Regions from separate parts of the Homo sapiens genome. Here regions 1, 2, 4 and 5 are each linked to region 3. The links are contacts of gene promoters, found by promoter capture Hi-C in human tissues and cell types (Jung and others, 2019). All regions are on one chromosome and are shown on one strand. The core of a region is centred on a gene start or on the middle of the fragment in contact, and the rest is flanking DNA. Distances in the headings are between cores, read along the strand shown.

What was found. Contacts are between HindIII fragments. The study calls those that stand out against the background at their distance.
Region 1: a fragment that was not itself captured here is called in contact with the fragment with the promoter of MAP3K6 in region 3 in 1 of the 25 tissues and cell types used here (neural progenitor cells).
Region 2: a contact is called between a fragment that was not itself captured here and the fragment with the promoter of MAP3K6 in region 3, in 1 of the 25 tissues and cell types used here (liver).
Region 4: a fragment that was not itself captured here is called in contact with the fragment with the promoter of MAP3K6 in region 3 in 2 of the 25 tissues and cell types used here (dorsolateral prefrontal cortex and mesenchymal stem cells).
Region 5: a contact is called between a fragment that was not itself captured here and the fragment with the promoter of MAP3K6 in region 3, in 1 of the 25 tissues and cell types used here (lymphoblastoid cells).

The regions. Positions count from the first base shown.
Region 1 is chr1:26,965,819-26,969,731 of GRCh38, forward strand. No RefSeq gene overlaps it. Among named protein-coding and RNA genes, the nearest start is that of KDF1, 7.3 kb to the left of the region's middle. RefSeq lists a silencer at 913-1,613. The HindIII fragment of the contact is 6,129 bases long and covers 1-3,913 here.
Region 2 is chr1:27,684,129-27,687,746 of GRCh38, forward strand. It overlaps the pseudogene CHMP1AP1. Among named protein-coding and RNA genes, the nearest start is that of IFI6, 14 kb to the left of the region's middle. The HindIII fragment of the contact is 4,176 bases long and covers 243-3,618 here.
Region 3 is chr1:27,365,241-27,369,143 of GRCh38, forward strand. It overlaps MAP3K6 (mitogen-activated protein kinase kinase kinase 6), which reads right to left and starts at 1,721. Exons shown (of 29, transcript NM_004672.5): 1 at 1,018-1,721. The coding sequence starts at 1,357. It overlaps FCN3 (ficolin 3), which reads right to left. Exons shown (of 8, transcript NM_003665.4): 8 at 3,870-3,903. RefSeq lists silencers at 310-379, 970-1,019, 1,090-1,309, 1,340-1,449 and enhancers at 702-1,645, 1,646-2,587. The HindIII fragment of the contact is 34,431 bases long and covers 1-3,903 here.
Region 4 is chr1:27,760,501-27,763,968 of GRCh38, forward strand. FAM76A (family with sequence similarity 76 member A) reads left to right here. Exons shown (of 9, transcript NM_152660.3): 9 at 1-2,616. The coding sequence ends at 81. Among named protein-coding and RNA genes, the nearest start is that of STX12, 11 kb to the right of the region's middle. The HindIII fragment of the contact is 6,157 bases long and covers 1-3,468 here.
Region 5 is chr1:27,084,370-27,087,849 of GRCh38, forward strand. No RefSeq gene overlaps it. Among named protein-coding and RNA genes, the nearest start is that of SLC9A1, 69 kb to the right of the region's middle. The HindIII fragment of the contact is 7,329 bases long and covers 1-3,480 here.

The DNA of each region.
Region 1 (3,913 bases), core at 1,380-3,879, 400 kb before region 3:
AACCAACCCCCTCCCTACAAAACAAACAAACAAACAAACAAACAAACAAAAAACAAACAAAAAATTGACACTCTTTGAAGCAAAACAGAGTACCTTATAGGTCCATCATTCAGCCGACAAAGGAGAGAGAGGTCTACTGGGGTGAGTTTTCCGGGTCACAACCTGCCTCTCCTGTGCGCTTTCCTTTACACTTTACAAAACAAACACATTTTTTACTTGATCCATATTACAGCCCTATGAGGTTGGCAATGTCATATTCATTTTTACAAGTGGGGAAACTGAGGCCATCAAGGTTAGACCATTTGCTCAAGGCCACACTTCTAATGAGTAGTAAAGCTGGGTGGGAACCCCATCTTTCTGACTCCCCATACAATGTTCCTCACTGTGCCCTCCTCCAAGCCCTTACAGCTGTGTCTGGGTTTCTTTCTTTTTTTTGAGACAGAGTCTTGCTCTGTCTCCCAGGCTAGAGTGGAGTGGCGTGATCTTGGCTCACTGCAACCTCCGCCTCCCAGGTTCAAGTGATTCTCCTGCCTCAGCCTCCCTAGTAGCTAGGACTACAGGCGTGTGCTGCCACACCTGGCTAATTTTTTGTATTTTTAGTAGAGACGGAGTTGCATCGAGTTAGCCAGGATGGTCTCAATCTCCCGACCTCGTGATCCACCCGCCTCAGCCTCCCAAAGTGCTGGGATTACAAGCATGAGCTACCGCACCCAGCGTGTCTGGGTTTCTTTCTAAGCAGAGTGGACAACTGCCTCTGTCATCAGCCTCTTGAGCTCAGTTTTTCCTTTTGGCCTTGACCTGGGGCCATTGTCCCAATCCCCTGCTTTCCCCATGGTTGCTCCACTCTGTTCAATTTTTACTTTTCTGATCACCCTCCTCAGCCACCATTTAGGCTCCCAGGCTGGTGGTGACAGCTTGGTGGGAGGAGGGAAGTATCAAGGATGACGCTGGGCTTCTGGCTGTGTTACTGGATGAATGGAGATGACTGGGGAGGACCAGTTTGGGGTGTAAGAATGCAAACGTAGTGTTAGACCTATTGAATTTGATGGTCTGTAAGATAGCCCAGACATATCACCATTGTATCCATGGATGCCATTTTGGAGTGCTGTTTAGGAGCTGCAACACGTACAGCGCTGGGGCTGTGGAGGAGCCGTGGGTCAGGGGAATGTAGGCAGTGGTGTGTGGAGCCGGCTTCAGTGGACCTGCTTCCCTTCCTTCCCTGGGTATCTGCTGCTTGCCTCTGGTGTGCTTCTCCCATAAGGGCACTAGGGGACAGCACACAACAGTGGAAATTGCCAGAACTTCAGGGTCACAGGTTCTGACTTGGAATACTAGATGCTCAGCTGTGGTGTGAACTTAGCCTCTTTGGACCTCAGCATTTCCTTTTTTTTTTTTTTTCTTTTTTGAAACGGAGTCTCGCTCTGTTGCCCAGGCTGGAGTGCAATGGTGCGATCTTGGCTCACTGCAACCTCTGCCTCCTGGCTTCAAGCGATTCTCCTGCCTCAGCCTCTGGAGTAGCTGGGATTACAGGCACAGGCCACCACGTGCAGCTAATTTTTGTATTTTTAGTAGAGATGGGGTTTCACCATGTGACCGGGCTGGTCTCGAATTCCTGACCTCAGGTGATCCACCCACCTCGGCCTCCTAAAGTGCTGGGATTATAGGCGTGAGCCACCACGCCTGGCCTGGACCTCAGCATTTCTCATCCAAAAATGGTTTTAACATGAGGTAAGATAACACAGTGGTTTAGAGTGTGAGTTCTGGAGCCATAGGATCTGAACTCGTGCCCCAGCTCATACACGTACTTGCTGTGTGTTCCTTTGGCCAAGTTATTGAACTCCTCTGTGCCTCAGACACCTCATCTGTAAAGTGTGGGTGATAGCTTCATGTGGTGATTACAACCGAGACCAGCACATGGTAAGTGCTAAACAGATGTTAGCTATTTTATATTAACCCCCTTCCTCACCTCCACACCCCACCCTCTGGCTCCCTGCCCCGCCATTCTGGGGCTGGGACTCTCAAAGGCAAGACCACTGCCTCTGAGAATAAGCTGAGCAAATTACTGGTATTGACCACGACTGCCTACAACATGTTAGGTTTATTATGTGCCTTATTCCATTTAATCCCCATAATAAGGCCAGCAGGGTGGCTCACACCTGCAATCCCAGCACTTTGAGTGGCCAAGACAGGAGGATCGTTTGAGCTCAGGAGTTCAGACCAGGCTGGGAAACAGCAAGACCTTGTCTCTGCCAAAAAAAAGGAAAGAAAAGAAATTAGCCAGTATGGTGATGCACGCCCGTGGTCCCAGCTACTCAGGAGGCTGAGGCAGGAGGATCACTTGAGCCTAGGAGGTCAAGGTTGCAGTGAGCAGTGATCATGCCATTGCACTCCAGCCTGGGTGACAGAGCAAGACCCTGTCCCCCAAGCGAAAAAAAAAATCCTCACAATAACTCAGTAAACAGATCTCAAACTCCTGTTTTACAGCTAAGAAAACAGAGGCTCAGAGATTTAAACCACTTGCCCAGGGTCACATAGCTAGTAAGTGGCAGAGCCTAGAGCTGAGCCCAAGTTCATTCTGGTTCAGAGCCTGAGCTCTTTGCAGTGGCTCCTCTGGGCCCCCCAGAAACTGGGTCCTTAGAGGCCGGCTGCGTTGGCTCACACCTGTAATCCTAGCACTTTGGGAGGCCGAGGTGGGCGGATCACCTGAGGTCATGAGTTCGAGACCAGCCTAACCAACATGGAGAAACTCCATCTCTACTACAAATACAAAATTAGCTGGGCATGGTGGCTCATGCCTGTAATCCCAGCTACTTGGGAGGCTGAGGCAGGAGAATCGCTTGAACCCGGGAGGTGGAGGTTGCAGTGAGCCGAGATCACACCATTGCACTCCAGCCTGGGCAACAAGAGCGAGACTCCATCTCAAAAAACAAAACAAAACAAACAAAAAAAACTGTTACGCTTGTGGGGTGGGGGTGGCGGTGAAGGGGGTGAGGGGCAAGCGAACAGGGCTCTGTACTGTGTGAGAGCTGTGGAGAGAGGTGCAGGGGAAGCCCCCTGGAACTCCAGGCTGCACTGTTAGACGGGAGCCCCCAGGGATTCCTGGGGTTCTCTGTCTTGTGCCAGTGCTGCACCCCATTGGCTGGGCCTAGAGGGAGCTGCAGGCTGAGGAACCCTATCTTGTGCCAGGTTGAGGCAGGATCTGCTGGTTGGTTCCAAGTCCCTAGTAAAAGTATTTTCCAGAGTCCTTGTGCCAAAAGAAGCTTCACCCAACCCCCTCAATTTGCCAATGAGAAAATGAGGTGCGAGAGGGGAACGAGCTTAGTTGAGGTCACATAGTGAGTAAGGGGTGGGCCTTGGTGAATATGGACCTCTGCTTCCTCACTTGCCTCTGTGTGGTGTCAGGTTAAACCTGGGTTCAGATCCTGCCTTTACTGCTTGGTGCTTTGTGAGCCTGGACAAGTGACTCAGACTCTCTGGGCTTTAGTTTCTACATCAGTGAAATGCATTTATTCATTCAGCCCTTCTCTTGGCTGCACCCTCATCCCCCACCATACTACTCCCTCACTGTTACACACACACACACACACACACACACACACACACACACACACACACACACACAGAGGAAAGGCTACACATGGCCAAGCTGAGGCTCCTGGTCACTCAGAGAGAGCACTGCAGCTCTGGCCACTGAACACCACCCCCTACGTTCTGCCCACCCCAGCCAATGTCACTTCCAAGAGCCAATGCCTCTTGGAAGCCTTCCTAGAGAGCCCCCAGCTAGAAGGCTGTCCCCTATGCTAAGTCAAGGCCATCTGGGTCCCTAAGTGATCTTGACCTCCCCTGCTGCTTTTCCTGCCTTCAGACTGAAGCTCCCAGTGGGCAAGGTCTGTTCTGATTCATCCCTGAGTCC
Region 2 (3,618 bases), core at 1,081-3,580, 320 kb after region 3:
ATACAATGCCCATTTCCATAAAACATTAGGTAAAGGAGACACAACCACTTTACATTAAGCCTTTACGTAAAGCCTGTTTAGACATTCCCACTTTCAGAATCCTGTTGACCAAGTATATTTTTATGTCCCGGGAACTTCTCTTCTCCACCCCCTCCCCAGACCATTTTATTCTCTCTTGGGCAATAAGTGTTTAGGTCCTTAGCCAGAGGCCAGGCCAGGAGACTCTGGCCTCTCTGTCAATCTTCCCTTGATTAACCAGTCTGACCATCACCCCAGGCAATTCCAGGTAGGGTTTCTTATTGTAAATCTTTACCTTCCTGCTTTTAAAATTCCACCAAACTGGAGGAAATAGAGCAAACTGGTTTGGGGCCTTTAATGTTGAAGACCATCAGAGACTCTCTTTGGTCCACCCAACCTTCAATAGTGTTGTATTAAGACATTTATTTTGGCCACGCGCAGTGGCTCATGACTGTAATCCCAGCACTTTGGGAGGCCGAGGCTGGCAGATCACCTGAAGTCAGGAGTTCAAGACTACCCTGGCCAACATGCCAAAACCCCATCTCTACTAAAAATACAAAAATTAGCCAGGCGTGGTGGCAGGTCCCTGTAATCCCAGTTACTTGGGAAGCTGAGGCAGGAGAATTGCTTGAACCCAGGAGGCAGAGGTTACAGTGAGCTGAGATCATGCCACTGCACTCCAGCCTGGGTGACAGAGCGAGACTCTGTCTCAAAAAAAAAAAAAAAAAAAAAAAAAAGACATTTGTTTTCACTGCATTAATTTCCTTTTTTAAAACCTCATTAATTTTTATTTTACTCATCCTATTTCTTAATAACCATCTAAGGATTTCCATCCTGCTCAGACGAGTCTCATGACTCTCCCCTTTCTTTTTCCTCTTAGTTTCACCCTTATCAGTGTTCTCTTCTTTCTCTCCCTCCCTCTCTCTCCTTTCTTCTTTCCTTCTCCTTCCTTCCTTCCTTCCTTCCTTCCTTTGCTTCCTTGCTTGCTGGGGGACCTGTTTATTTACAGCAGCATTTTAGGAAAAGGGCAAACATGGCTCTCTCCTTCAACAAATCCCTGCTTTGGTGCCCAAGGAGACAGGGCTGAGGTAGCCCCTGCCTGGCCCTTGGCTCTGTGGAGCCCTGCACCCTTGGGAGGACAAGGTAGCTCCCCAAAGCTGTTAATTCCAAAGCTGTTATTTGCAAGGGATAGAGGGACCTTGTTTCAACACCCAGCATGTGGGTCAATTTCTGGGGAGGCTGGAGAGGACCATGGCCAGATGGTGCCTTGACCTCCGCATGTCCAGACCCACCAATGGGATCTCCTCCCAGGGGCTCTGAAATCCTGAAAAGAAAACCAAACGCACTGAGTGAGGGTCTTATGCTTCCCTTCATAAGAGCCATGACACCGCGGCAGCCCTGGTGCAGAGGAGGGGCTGGGACTCACCCTCCCCGCCTGCCACCTGTCCTTTCTACTTTGGCAAACAACAACAAAACCCTGGAAGCTTCAAGAAAATGAAGTAAACTTTAGGGAACAGAAAAAACAAAACAGCAGGCTGTGCCCAAAGCCCTCTCTCTGCCGTCCCCCTCTCCGAGTCCTCCTGATGAGCTGCAGCTGGTGGTGCCCGCGTGGCCACAGCACAGGTTTTCCTCACAGAGCCACTGGCCCAGCTGAAGGTGACTCTCCTAAGCTCCCTTCACCAGCCACTCTGGCTTCCACGCTGGGAAGGTAGGATGGGGTGCAGTCGGGGGAGGCACCCAGTTATTTAGAGAGACAGAAGAGATTGGCACACAGGCAGCATCACCGAGGAGGCCCCACGCACATGCTCAATTCTGGCCAGTGCATGGACAGACCCCCTGCTGAGGGGACACAACAGCACAGCCCATGTAGCCCAAGGCACCTCCAGAGGTGGCAGATGAGCAAGGATGAGGACCCCAGGGTGGAAACTCCTGGATTTGGAGCTGGGCAAGTTTCTGTCCCCATGGACTGGGCAGCTTTAAGAACCAGGGGAGCTGAGGGCAGGAGGCCCAGGGAGGCTCAGCCAGCTGTCAGGAGCAGCCCAGACCCCACCCCTAGAATGACAGAGGAGGAAGAGGGGGAGGGTCATCATCTGTAAATGCCACCAAGACAGTGTTGGGTGGCACCTGACGTTCCCCAGCACACACGAGCCACTGGTGCCTCTTCAGGCTGTGTCCGTTCACATGGTGGGACCTCCTGCCCATTGGTGGTAGGGGCAGGGTGCGTGGAGAGGCCTTCTCCAGGAGCTGCCTGGAAAACAGGGCAGCCCTGACCCCCACTGGCTGACAGTGAGCAGCATGTCTCCTATCACGGAGTCTGAAGGTCCCCGCAGTGTTGAGCAAAAGTTTACATGGCACCCACTGGCCAGACCCCATCGACTCCACAGAGAGCAAAAGAGAGCCTGCTGACCTCCCAGCTGTTGGCCCCAGAGTCACAGAAGTCACCCCTACTCAACACCAGGACACAGATCCACCGCCCAACCTAAGAAAACAGGAACAACTCCAGGGCCACCTAGGCCAGGCAGGTGAGAGGAGCTGGGCGACAGTAGCTGCCAGCTGCAGCTCTGCAGGATCAACAAAAAGGCAAGATGCCGGGGGGAGGGGAGGAGGCCAGGAGCCTTGCGGCACATCACAGAGCAGAGGCGGTGCCCACGGCAGGGTGCGGCTAATTCCTCAGGGCGGCTAACGCCCTTGACAGCTGTTCCTCCTGGCTTCACACGGAGCTCTCGCCCGGCAGAGGCACCCTTGGGCAACTGGCTGAGCTGGTCTAGGACCTCCAGGCCATTCTCCTTGGCGCTCTGCACAATGGGTCTGTCCACCTGCTCCTGAGGCATGGTCAGTGTGGCGGCCGAGCTCATGGAATCCTCCATCACTAATGTGTGCATGGCCAGGTTTTGCACTTGCTACTCAAACCTGTCCATCGCTGCAGAGGCCTTCTGCAGGTCCGTGGTGTTCAGGCCTTGTCTGGGGCTTTGGTCACCTACACCATGTTCTTGGTTACCACCTTCATGGTCACAGCTGTCTGCACCTCGGGGGCCACTGTGTCCAGGCGGATGCCATGTAGAGCCAGTTCACGCTGCTGTTCTCCTTGCAGATGGTGTTCTTGGTGTACACACGGGTGCACTCTACATTTTTCTGCTGAAGGGACTTCTTCACTTTGGCCTGGTTGGCGTAGGAGTGCTTTTCTGCCTTCTTGTCTGGTTTCTCCAGCTGCTTCACCATAAATTTCAACTGGAACAGGGTATTGTCCCCTGGCCAGTCTGACAGAAGCACCCCTTGGAAAGGCAGAAGGGACATGAACTCCGGGAGGCATCAGGTGCCAGTGGCTCTTGCCTTATTTCTTAATAACCATTTAAAAATGTTTGCCTTCGTGGGAGAAATCCTTTGATTCTCCCCTCTCCCATTACCTATTCTCTTGTTAGTTGCCTTAATGTTTTCATTACCATCCGTAAGACCCAGGAGGGGAAGCTGAGGTAGCAAATTTGATAAGGCTTCTCTGACTATAGCTCAGTTTTGCAGTAGTAAGGTTACATGAGGTGCCCATGCAAAAGAGGCTGCCTGAACCACAGCATTTATCATGACCCGGGTAATAGGCATTGTCAT
Region 3 (3,903 bases), core at 471-2,970:
AGTCCCCTCCCTTTGGTCTTCAGCACAGGCTCTTGAAAGGGGCTACCATCAGTGTGCATAGACAACGCTGTGCCTAAATGTATGTATGTGTATATCTGTGACATGTATAGCTTACTATGTCTGACTGTATCTGTGTGTGTGACAGCGTCTGCTAGGGCCTGCATGAGTCAACATGTATGCGATTTGTGTCTGTCGATAATTGTATCTTTGTGTCCGAGTGGTCGGGTCAGCCTTCATTTTAGGCTACGATTTCATGGACATCCAGGAAGCACAGCTACTGGACTCTAGCATAAGCAAGTAAGTATGGGGGCCGAGCATCCGGGCTGGCTGGAGGGAGGAGTGACTCGCGGGGGAATAGCCTCCTTCTGGCCCCGCCCCTGAGCCATCCTTTCCCGCCCACTTCCCCGCCCCTTCCCCGCCCATTCTTTCTGGGCCGCTGAGGCCACTTAACCTAAGCTCCCTCACCCAGTATCCAGTCCCGTCGGGCCCCTTCGCTTCTCTTTTTGCCTCTCCTAGCCCGATCCTTGGAAATAGTATGCTAGGACTCCTGAACTCCAGCCTCCCGGCCCCTTTCCCTAAGTCCAAGCTCCTCTCCCAGTAATTGTCCTCAAGAGATCCGCGTGACATTCTCCTGAGGGTGAGGCTGAGTTCTCCAACCCCACCCCTGAGACACCACAGCCCCGCGCCGCTCCCCGCCCCGCCCCAGAGTTCCAAAGCCCCTCCCCATCCTTGCCCCGCTGGCTGGGCACCGCTCCGACTGAAGGGTGCCTAAGCCCCAACCTCGAGCCCTAGAGCCGCGCCCGGATCCCTGTCTCGTCCCGAGCCCGGCCGCGCCCCAGATCCCCTAAATCCCACTTTTTTCACGGCCCTGTCCCAAGCCCTTCAGCTTTAGCTCACTTTAAGTCCCCTAGACCCGGTACCCCTCTCGGCCCCTCCCTTGAGCCTTCGAGCCCGGCTTGGTCCCCTCCCAGGACCCTGAGTCCCGCCCGGATCCGGCCCCGCCCCCAGCGCTCTCACCCGCGTTGTAGAAGGCATCCAGAGCCGCGGTGTCGCCTAGCTCCAGCGTCCCGAAGGGCAGGCTGCGCAGCTGCGGGGGCGGCCGCGGCCGGGGGACCTGCGCGCAAGCCTCGCGCAGGCAGCGCAGGGGCAGCGGCTCCGCCTCGGTTCCCTCCCGAGGCTCGAGCCCGGGCTGCGGCTCCCGGGTCAGCACGTAGACCACGCTGAGCGGCCGGCTCCGCGCGCAGCCCCGGCCCGGGGGCGCCGCGAGCTGCCGGCCCCGGCTCAGCGCCACGGCCAGCGGGTCCTGCCAGCAGCTGCCGGCGCGCTCCGCCCCGGACCGGGGACACGGCCCCGCCATGCGGGGGCGCTCAGGCGCGGGGCGCCGCGCACTGGGAACCGGGGGCGGGGCAGGAGCCTGGGCCGGCAGATCAGGAATCTTGGGATCTGGAATCCGTTCGGAATCGGAGAATCTCCCACGGGATCTAGGGATCCGGAATACGGCCTGACGTCCCGTTCCAGGAATCTAAAGTCCAGGGAGAAATCCTAGCTCGGACTTGCAAGGTCCTGAGGTTCTGAAATCCGGGATTGGGTCCCAGGAATCTGGGGCATCCGGTGATCGGCAGCTCAGAGCCACTTGGGGGATCCTGGGAATCGGCTCGGAGGTGCCCGCCACCTGGACTTCTCAAGGGAGCGCCCGCCAACGCTGCCCTGCCTTCACTTGTAGGCTAAGCCCAGCCCTTTCCCGGCCGACCCAGAAAGCTCCACCCTCGGCCCTGGGGCAGAGCCGCTCCCTAGCGGCTTGAGACTCAGCCTCTCCCCTCCCTTCTCTCCCGCCAGAACTTTGGAGACTGGCGGCTTCCGGAACAGCCTGTGCCCCTGTGCACGCCAAAGACTGTGGACTGCTCACAGCAAGTGCACATAAAATGTGTGAGGAGGCCAGGGCTAGGGAAAAGGTTCGATATGCAGGCCCTGCTCTGCAGGTATCTGTTGAATGAATGGCTCTCTAGAGACATCAGGGTGCGCAGAGCATGATGAACAATGGGTGTCCTCCCGGGCCCAGTGAGCGCAGGCAGGGAGGGACTGGGATGGGGGAAACCTACACCCTAGGCCGCTTGCCCGAAAGCCTTCAGTCCTGGAGTGGGACTTGGCATCTGAGCCTTAACTGTCACTAGGGGGCTGCTTTCCCCAGGACCCAACCTGCTGTGGACCCCCGCTGACCTTTGACTTCTAGGCAGAACGTGGCCATGGGACCTGAGAAGCACTTCCTACTCTAAACAACTCTAAACATTTCTTTAGCCACCCCTTGAAGGAGTCAACCCCAGCCCTTTGCACTACAGCAGCTTCTCAGCTTCAAATCCCCAAGAGTCCCCAACTTTCTTGTGTGAATTAATGAGTGAGGCAGCAACCTGGTAGAAGCCTCAGTGGACCCTGAAACCAAGAACTGGGGACTTAAGTTGAATAACTTGTCCAGGATCACTCAGCACATGACAGCAGGGTGCAAACCCAGGACCGCCTGTCAGACTCTTAACTATTTAATTCTGCCACTTACTAGAATGTGGCTTTGGGCAAATAAACTGCTTAAATGCTACTCAATGGCTGTTTCATTGCCCTGTTGCCTTGTGGAAGAAAAAGGTACCTTCCTTGGTTTGACCTTGGATTCGAACTGACACCCAATGAGATAGGCAGGAAGTGGTAGAGTTTGAGAACTTGGCCTGCAACAGAGGCTGGAGTGGAAAACAGACAACTTACAAAGGACAGGCATGGGCAACCGACAGGCTGAGAAAGCTGTGCAATTCCCAGCCAGGGCGGTGGCTCATGCCTGTAATCCCACTTTGGGAGGCCAAGATGAGTGGATCACGAGGTCAGGAGTTCGAGACCAGCCTGGCCAACATGGTGAAACCCCGTCTCTACTAAAAATACAAAAAAAAGTAGCTGGGTGTGGTGGCACCTGCCTGTGATCCCAGCTACTTGGGAGCTGAGGCAGGAGAATCACTTGAACCTGGGAGATGGAGGTTGCGGTGAGTGGAGATCGTGCCATTGCACTCCAGCCTGGGCGGGGCGACAGAGCAAGACTCCATCTCAAAAAAAAAAAAAGCTATGCAATTGTGCAATTCCTGCCACAAAGCCATCCACTTGCAGGACCCAGAGGGCCTCGGGAAATTGTCAATGGATGCTTGGATCTCCTCTAATCCTTCCACTGTATGCCCCTCTGGCTCATTGCACTCCAGCCTGGGCAGGGCGACAGAGCAAGACTCCATCTCAAAAAAAAAAAAAAAAAAAAAGCGGCCGGGCGCAGTGGCTCACACCTGTAATCCCAGCACTTTGGGAGGCCGAGGAGGGCAGATCATGAGGTCAGGAGATTGAGACCATCCTGGCTAACATGATGAAACCCCGTCTCTACTAAAAATACAAAAAATTCGCCGGGCGTGGTAACGGGTGCCTGTAGTTCCAGCTACTCGGGAGGCTGAGGCAGGAGAATGGCGTGAACCTGGGAGGCAGAGCTTGCAGTGAGCCAGGATGGTGCCACTGCACTCCAGCCTGGGCGACAGAGCGAGACTGCGTCTCAAAAACAAACAAACAAACAAACAAACAAAAAAGCTGTGCAATTGTGCAATTCCTGCCACAAAGCCATCCACTTGCAGGACCCAGAGAGCCTCAGGAAATTGTCAATGGATGCTTGAATCTCCTCCAGTCCTTCCACTATATGCCCCTCTGGCCTTGTCTTGCACACCTCCAGAGACAGAAGCCTCACTACTTTAGAGGCTGTCCTTTCCATCTTCCTGACTGGAAGGAAATTCTTCCCTGAATGGAGCTGAAACTTGTGTCCCTGCTCTGCCCTCTAGGGTTTTTTCCCAGTAACTGGAAGAGTCTTGAAAGGGCTAAAATGATTTTATTTTTAAATGT
Region 4 (3,468 bases), core at 197-2,696, 390 kb after region 3:
AACCGAGAGCTCCTGAAGCAGGCAGCTGCTTTGTCCAAGAGCAAGAAGTCAGAGAAGTCAGGAGCTATAACCTCTCCATGACAGACCTCAAGGAGGCTCCCTAGCAACAGCAAATGGAGTTGTCCAGGGTTAGGGTTGGAGACCTGGCTGTTCTGTGGGAATTGCAAGCTTTCTTAAGAAATCTCTATTTTATTACAGTTATCCTTCTTTGTGCGATTGCAGTGGGCTGAATGGAAACACCTGGTTTGTGCTGTGTTAGACTGCATGCTTGAGTGTTTGGGATTTCAAGCTCGCTCTCTTTCTCTCACTATTAGGACTTTTCTTTTTCTTCTTCCTCTTCTCTCTATTTTGGTTCTATTCTTTTTTTTTCTTTTTTCTTTTTTTTTTTTTTTTTTTTTTTGTGGTGGTCACTGCTCAGTGTAATGTGCAGAATGATTTGTTTTTTGTTTTTTTTTTTTTTTTTGGTCCTTCATTGCATCCTGCCATACCCATGAGCAAACAGTTTGGCATTAATTATATATCACTGCCACCCTCTGAACTTTGAAAACTGCCATCTTCAGACTTGGTATAATGGAAGAGGCTTTCTCTCTCCAATAAACCTTTTGCTTCAGGGTATACTCTTCGGTTTTTTTCCAGATGTATTATGTATGAACTTTGTACTATGTATAGCCAGAGTTTTATTTATTTTTTAAAAAAGAAACTTTTTCTTGATAAAGGAATAATGGTGGTCTAGCTAGTTCTTGTAAAAGTGATGCCTCTTGAAAAAAAAACAGTCCTATTCACTAGCTTTTAGTAAAAGAATCAGATCTTTTCTTTCTTGTTACCTTGGAGTCTTAAAAACTGATTGCTAAGGTGAAACAATTCAATGCATAAGTATGGAGCTAAGTGCCTTTTGGAGGATTTCTTGGAAGAGCATTTATGGAGATACTTAAGGGAGGTAGCAAAGATTTGAACCGTCTGTCTTTTTAAGTAAGGGCAGAAAGCAAGGTTGTCCAGGTTGTACTGGACACTTCTCTCCCCACCCCTTTCCTGATTGTTTTATGTGATTGATTTTAAATTCTCACACTGCCACTTCTTTAAAAAATAAAATCCTTTATTTGCTTATATCAGTTGTCATACTGGGCTGCTGTCAGAGAATGTTTTTTTACATGAATGAACAGATTAAAAATGGAATAATATGGTCGGGTGCGGTGGCTCACGCCTGTAATACCAGCAATTTGGGAGGCCAAGGCGGGTGGATCATTTGAGGTTAGGAGTTTGAGACCATCCTGGCCAACATGGTAAAACCCCATCTGTACTAAAAAAATACAAAAATTAGCCGGGCCTGGTGGCATGCACCTGTAATCCCAGCTACCCAGGAGGCTGAGGCAGGAGAACTGCTCGAATCCCGGGAGGCAGAGGTTGCAATGAGCTGAAATCGCAACACTGCACTGCAGCCTGGGCAATGGAGTGAGACTCCGTCTCAAAAAAAAAAAAAAAAGGAATAATATTTGAACTACAGAGCATTTTTGGGGTCAGCATGAGCTGCTCTAGTAAGGACTCTTGAGTCTGGGAAAAGTGGTATCACTATACCTTCTCCCCACTCCTCACCCACCCGAGCCCATACACTCCCTGCTTTTCATGGATATGTATTGAAAACAGGTGCTTCTCAGAAGCACTTTGCCTCAACCAGAGTTATGTATGCCCTGCCTATCTTCCCTTCTTAACCCTGTAGGAATATGGATTTACTTTTCCAGGAAAGGGGATAGATTTACATTTCTAGGCATACTCTCAGGTCCTCTATGTGATGTTTGTGAAAGGAATTAGGGTGTGTCATGTGTGCCATGAAACAACAAAACCAACTACCCTAGAATCATTTATGCAGGGGGTACTAGAGTTAGAAATAATAATGAGGGCAGATAACATTTGTACCTCAGTCTACCAAAAAATTATAGTACTAAATTTAACTTCTAGGCGTTTCCTGGAAGCAGATGCTCTATAATTTGTGATAGCATTCTCATAAATGGAGTCCTACACATAATTGGACAGAGATGTGGAAATGGTGGTTTCCTTCTGATAAGGGATACAGTGGACCATGTCGCTTATATATCACCCTACTAGGGGATATAATTTTCCCTTCTAAGCAAGGGAAATGGCAGTGCTAAATAGTTTTGTAAAGTTTTTGAATGAGAAGCTTTTAGGTAAAGATAAACTGTCATAATATTTTTCAGATGCATTTGCATTGACTATGGGAGAAAAATTAGGGGGAAATGACAGTCATGGTGTTTTTTTTTAATTTTAAGGACTGAAATTCTGTTACATGATGTATGACAATATAAAAACATACTTAGTTTTATACTAAATCTTTTTTTAAGGTCTTGGCATTTAATATAAAGCAAATTCACACGTTTTCTAACTTTCCATAAGTTCCAAAAAGGGAAAGAAGAAACCTCAGTCTTGAAATTTTGATTTTTAAAAATCATGACACTGTTTTACCATGAAATTGAGTAGCTAACTTTTGGTAACACCTTTTGTTTCTTTGTATGTTTGTAATAATGGACATTTTAAAACACAGGAATGTTTTGGTTTGTACAGACTTTGACAAATGTGTGTTAATAAAAATTCATATTGACTCAAGTGTAATTGTTGGATTTTGTTTTTATTTCTTGCTGTTTACCAGTAGACATACCCCGTTATCCCCTTCAGCCCTTCAGCCTAGAAAAGTTTGTCTTGCTTATAGACTTAAAAAATTAAAAGCCTAACTGCTAATTGGGAATTTCCTGTCCATTAGAGAATAAACTCTTTCTTTCTCTCTTCTATGACTGTTTTGAGACAGAGTCTCACTCAGTCATCCAGGCTGGAGTACAGTGGCAAGTAGATCACTGCAGCCCCGACTTCCTGGGGATTCTCCCACCTCAGCCTCCCAAGTAGCTGGGACTACAGATGCACGCCACCATACCCAGCTAATTTTTGTATTTTTTGTGAAGATAGGGTTTTGCCATCCAGGCTGGTCTCCAACTCCTGGACTCAAGCCATCCACCCACCTCATCAGCCTCCCAAAGTGCTAGGATTACAGGCATGAGCTACCACACCCAGCCTCTTGGTGATTCTGTTTACCCAGTGTAAGTGCTCATGTTGTGATAGGCACTGTGCTAGGCAGCGCGGTTACAGCAGTGACAAAACCAAGTTATTGTACTTATGGGGCTTCCATTTAGTGGAATATTGGACACCACCACACCACCATTGTTCCTTGATTTAAAAAAAACTTTTTTTTTTTTTAATGGAGTCATGCTCTGTCACCCAGGCTGGAGTGCAGTGGCATGATCTCGGCTCACTGCAACCTCTGCCTTCTGGGATCAAGTGATTCTCCAGCCTCAGCCTCCCAAGTAGCTGGAACTACAGGTGGCGCACCAACACATTCAGCTAATTTTTTTGTATTTTTAGTAGAGACGGGATTTCACCATGGTGGCCAGGCTGGTGTCGAACTCC
Region 5 (3,480 bases), core at 280-2,779, 280 kb before region 3:
GAGAAAAAAACACTTATGTGAAGCTGCTGTATTTGGGGACAGCTTTGTGACAGCACCTTAGCCTCATCCCCAACTAACAGAGACCCATTTAATAATGCTCCCGTCCAGGGATATGTCCAGTACATTAATCCTAGTTCTCAACTTCCTCCAGTCTTAACCTCTCTTTGGGTCTCTTCTAGGGTCTATGGTTTATCATTATCACTATCTCTTTGCCAATACCTGGAACTCCATAACCCCTCTTTGACTTCATCTTATTTGCCTGGCAAAACCCATCTGTCTTGGTGCCTGCACTCAAGTATCTGAAGATCACTGACAAATTCGTACAGCTGAGCTGAGCAGTGCCACTGTTCTCAAACATCAAAGGGACTCGACACGGAAAACTCTACTGTTTTTCTAACACGAACAGTTTCTTTCTTCTCCTCTTTCTCAAGGTAACTATTTCACTTCTTTTCCTCTTTCTTCAAATTTCCTATTTCCCTTTCTAGATTCATTCTCATTTGATTTGGTAACCTTGCCTGACTATTTATTGAGAGAATTAATGCCTTCAGTCACACAGACACCTTTTCATCTTTCCTCCACAAAATCTGCAAACCCATCTGCTTCTTCCTACTTTGGAGATGTTGTCCCTACTTCTCTCAAGGGTGTCTTTTTTTTCTCTCTCTTCTTTCTTCTTTTCTTCTTCTCCTCCTTCTTCTTCCCCTTCTTCTCTTTCTTCTCCTTCTTTTCCTCCTTCTCCTTCTTTTTAAGACAGGGTCTCGCTCTGTCACCAAGACTGGAGTGCAGTGGTGCAATCATGCCTCAATCTCCTGGGCGAAGCGACCCTCCCACCTCAGCCTCCTGACTAGCTGGGGCCACAGGCATGGGCCACCACCCATGCCTGGCTATGTTTTTTTGTCTTTTGTTTTTTGTAGAGACACAGTGTCTCTATGTTGCCCAGGCTTGTCTTGAACTCCTGGACTCAAGAGCTCCTCCTGCTTCAGCCTCCCAAAGTGCTGGGATTACAGATGTGAGCCACTGTGCCTGGCCTCAGAATGTCTTGATTCTGAATCTCTACCTCTTTTACTTTATCAAAGTGTTTCCTTCTCTACTGGGTCATTTCCCACCACTTTAAAAACATTTCTAATATCCACTCTCCACCCCCAACACACACACAAACAAAACAAAAGTAAACTAATGGCTGTATTAGTTTTCTATTGCTGTGTAATACATTACCACAAACTTAGTGGCTTAAAAGAACACACATTTGCCAGGCGTGGTGGCTCATGCCTGTAATCTCAGTACTTTGGGAGGCTGAGGTGGGTAGATCACCTGAGGTCAGGAGTTTGAGACCACCCTGGTCAACATGGCGAAACCGTCTCTACTAAAAATACAAAAATTAGCCAGGTGTGGTGGCGCGCACCTGTAATCCCAGCTACTTGGGAGGCTGAGGCAGGAGAATCTCTTGAACCCAGGAGGTGGAAGTTGCAGTAAGCCGAGATTGTGCCATTGCACTCCAGCCTGGGTGACAGAACGAGACTCCGTCAAAAACAAACAAACAAACAAACAAACAAACAAAAAACACATTTATTGTGTCACAGTTTCTGTGGGTCAGAAGCCCAGCATGTTTTGAGTCCTCTGCTTAGCATCTTACCAGGCTGAAATCAAGGAACTAGCCCAGACTGTGACCCCAGCTGGGGCTCAGGGTCATCTTCCAAGCTTATTGGTTGTTGCAGAATTCAGTTTCCTGCAATTGGAGGACTGAGGTTTCTACTTTCTTGCTGGCTGCCAACAGGGGCCATTCGTAGCTCCTAGAGGCCACCAGTTGCTCACTGACATGTGACCCCCTTCACAAGAGGACAGTTTGCTCCTTCAAGGCCAGCAGTAAAGCGCTCTGTAAAAGGCTCACCTGATTAGGTCAGGCCCACCAAGATGAGTTTCTTCTGATTAATTCAAAGTCAACTGATTAGGGGCCTTAATTATATTTGCAATATTCACCTTTGCTATATAATGTAACCTAATCACAGCAATATCCCACCATACAGGTTCTGCCTGTATACCGTCAAGGGGAGGGGATTATACATGTCTTGTACAACAAAAGGCAGGAATCTTGGAGGCCATCTTACAATTCTGCCAACCACAACACACACCATACCACACACACATCACACACCACATACACCTCACACACCACCCCCACACACCACAAAGATCACACACACCACACCACACACACACCACATACCACACAGCCCACACACTGCACCACACATACACACCACACACATACCACATACCCCACATACCACACACACAGACACCACACACACCACATCCATACACCACACCACACACACTACACACCACACATCCCACATACCACACACACCACACACTACACACATACACACACCCCACACACCCCATACACACCCTGCACACCACACACATCACACACAGAGACACCGCCTATCCCACACACACCACACACCCCACATATCACACCACACACACCACATCCACACACACCACACACACACACAGCATACACAACACCCATAGACACCACACACCACACACACACCTCACGTACCAAACACCACACACACAACCACACACCACACACCAAACACACACCCCACACATACCTCACACCACAGACACACACCACCCCCCGCCACACAACACACACACACACACACACACACACACACACACACACACACACACAGCAGGTGCTCTGGACCTATCTGTCAAATTGCATGGGGCAGCTGAGCCTCAGTTTTCTTTGAGAGTCTCACTCTTGTCACCCAGACTGGAGTGCAGTGGCACGACCTTGGCTCACCGCAACCTCCGCCTCCTGGGTTCAAGCAATTCTCCTGCCTCAGCCTCTTGAGTAGGTGGGATTACAGGCATGCGCCCCAGCTAATTTTTGTATTTTTAGTAAAGACAGGTTTCACCATGTTGGCCAAGCTGGTCTCAAACTCCTGACCTCAAGTGATCTGCCTGCCTCGGCCTCCCAAAGTGCTGGGATTACAGGTGTGAGTCACTGCACCCAGCCCAGTTTTCTTATCTGTAAAATGGGTGTTGGGTCATATGTTCCTCCTGCCAGTCCAGGTGCCCTCTTCACCTTTCTCCATTCTGCGCTGGGCCTAGAGGCTGACCTCTCCCCAGGCTCCAGCTCTCACCAGATTCCAGGACCTTCCCTGCTCCCCGGCTGGTAAGAGCTTCCTGCTGCTGCAGACCCTTCAGGCTTCACCAGCCTTTCTTGGTTCCTTTAACTCTGCCCAGCACTTTGTAAGAGTCCCTTCATCAAACCCACAATACCCCTTTGAATGTGCCATCTGTTTCCACCCAGGGCCCTGATTGCTGCAATAATTGGTACCAGAATAGCTCTGGGAGACAGATCCTTGGAAGGGATTCTGGGGTTGGGTTGCTCATGCTTCTTGATTAGTGCGTGAATAGCCTCCTTGACATGGGGTAATGGACAATGGTCATCTATGG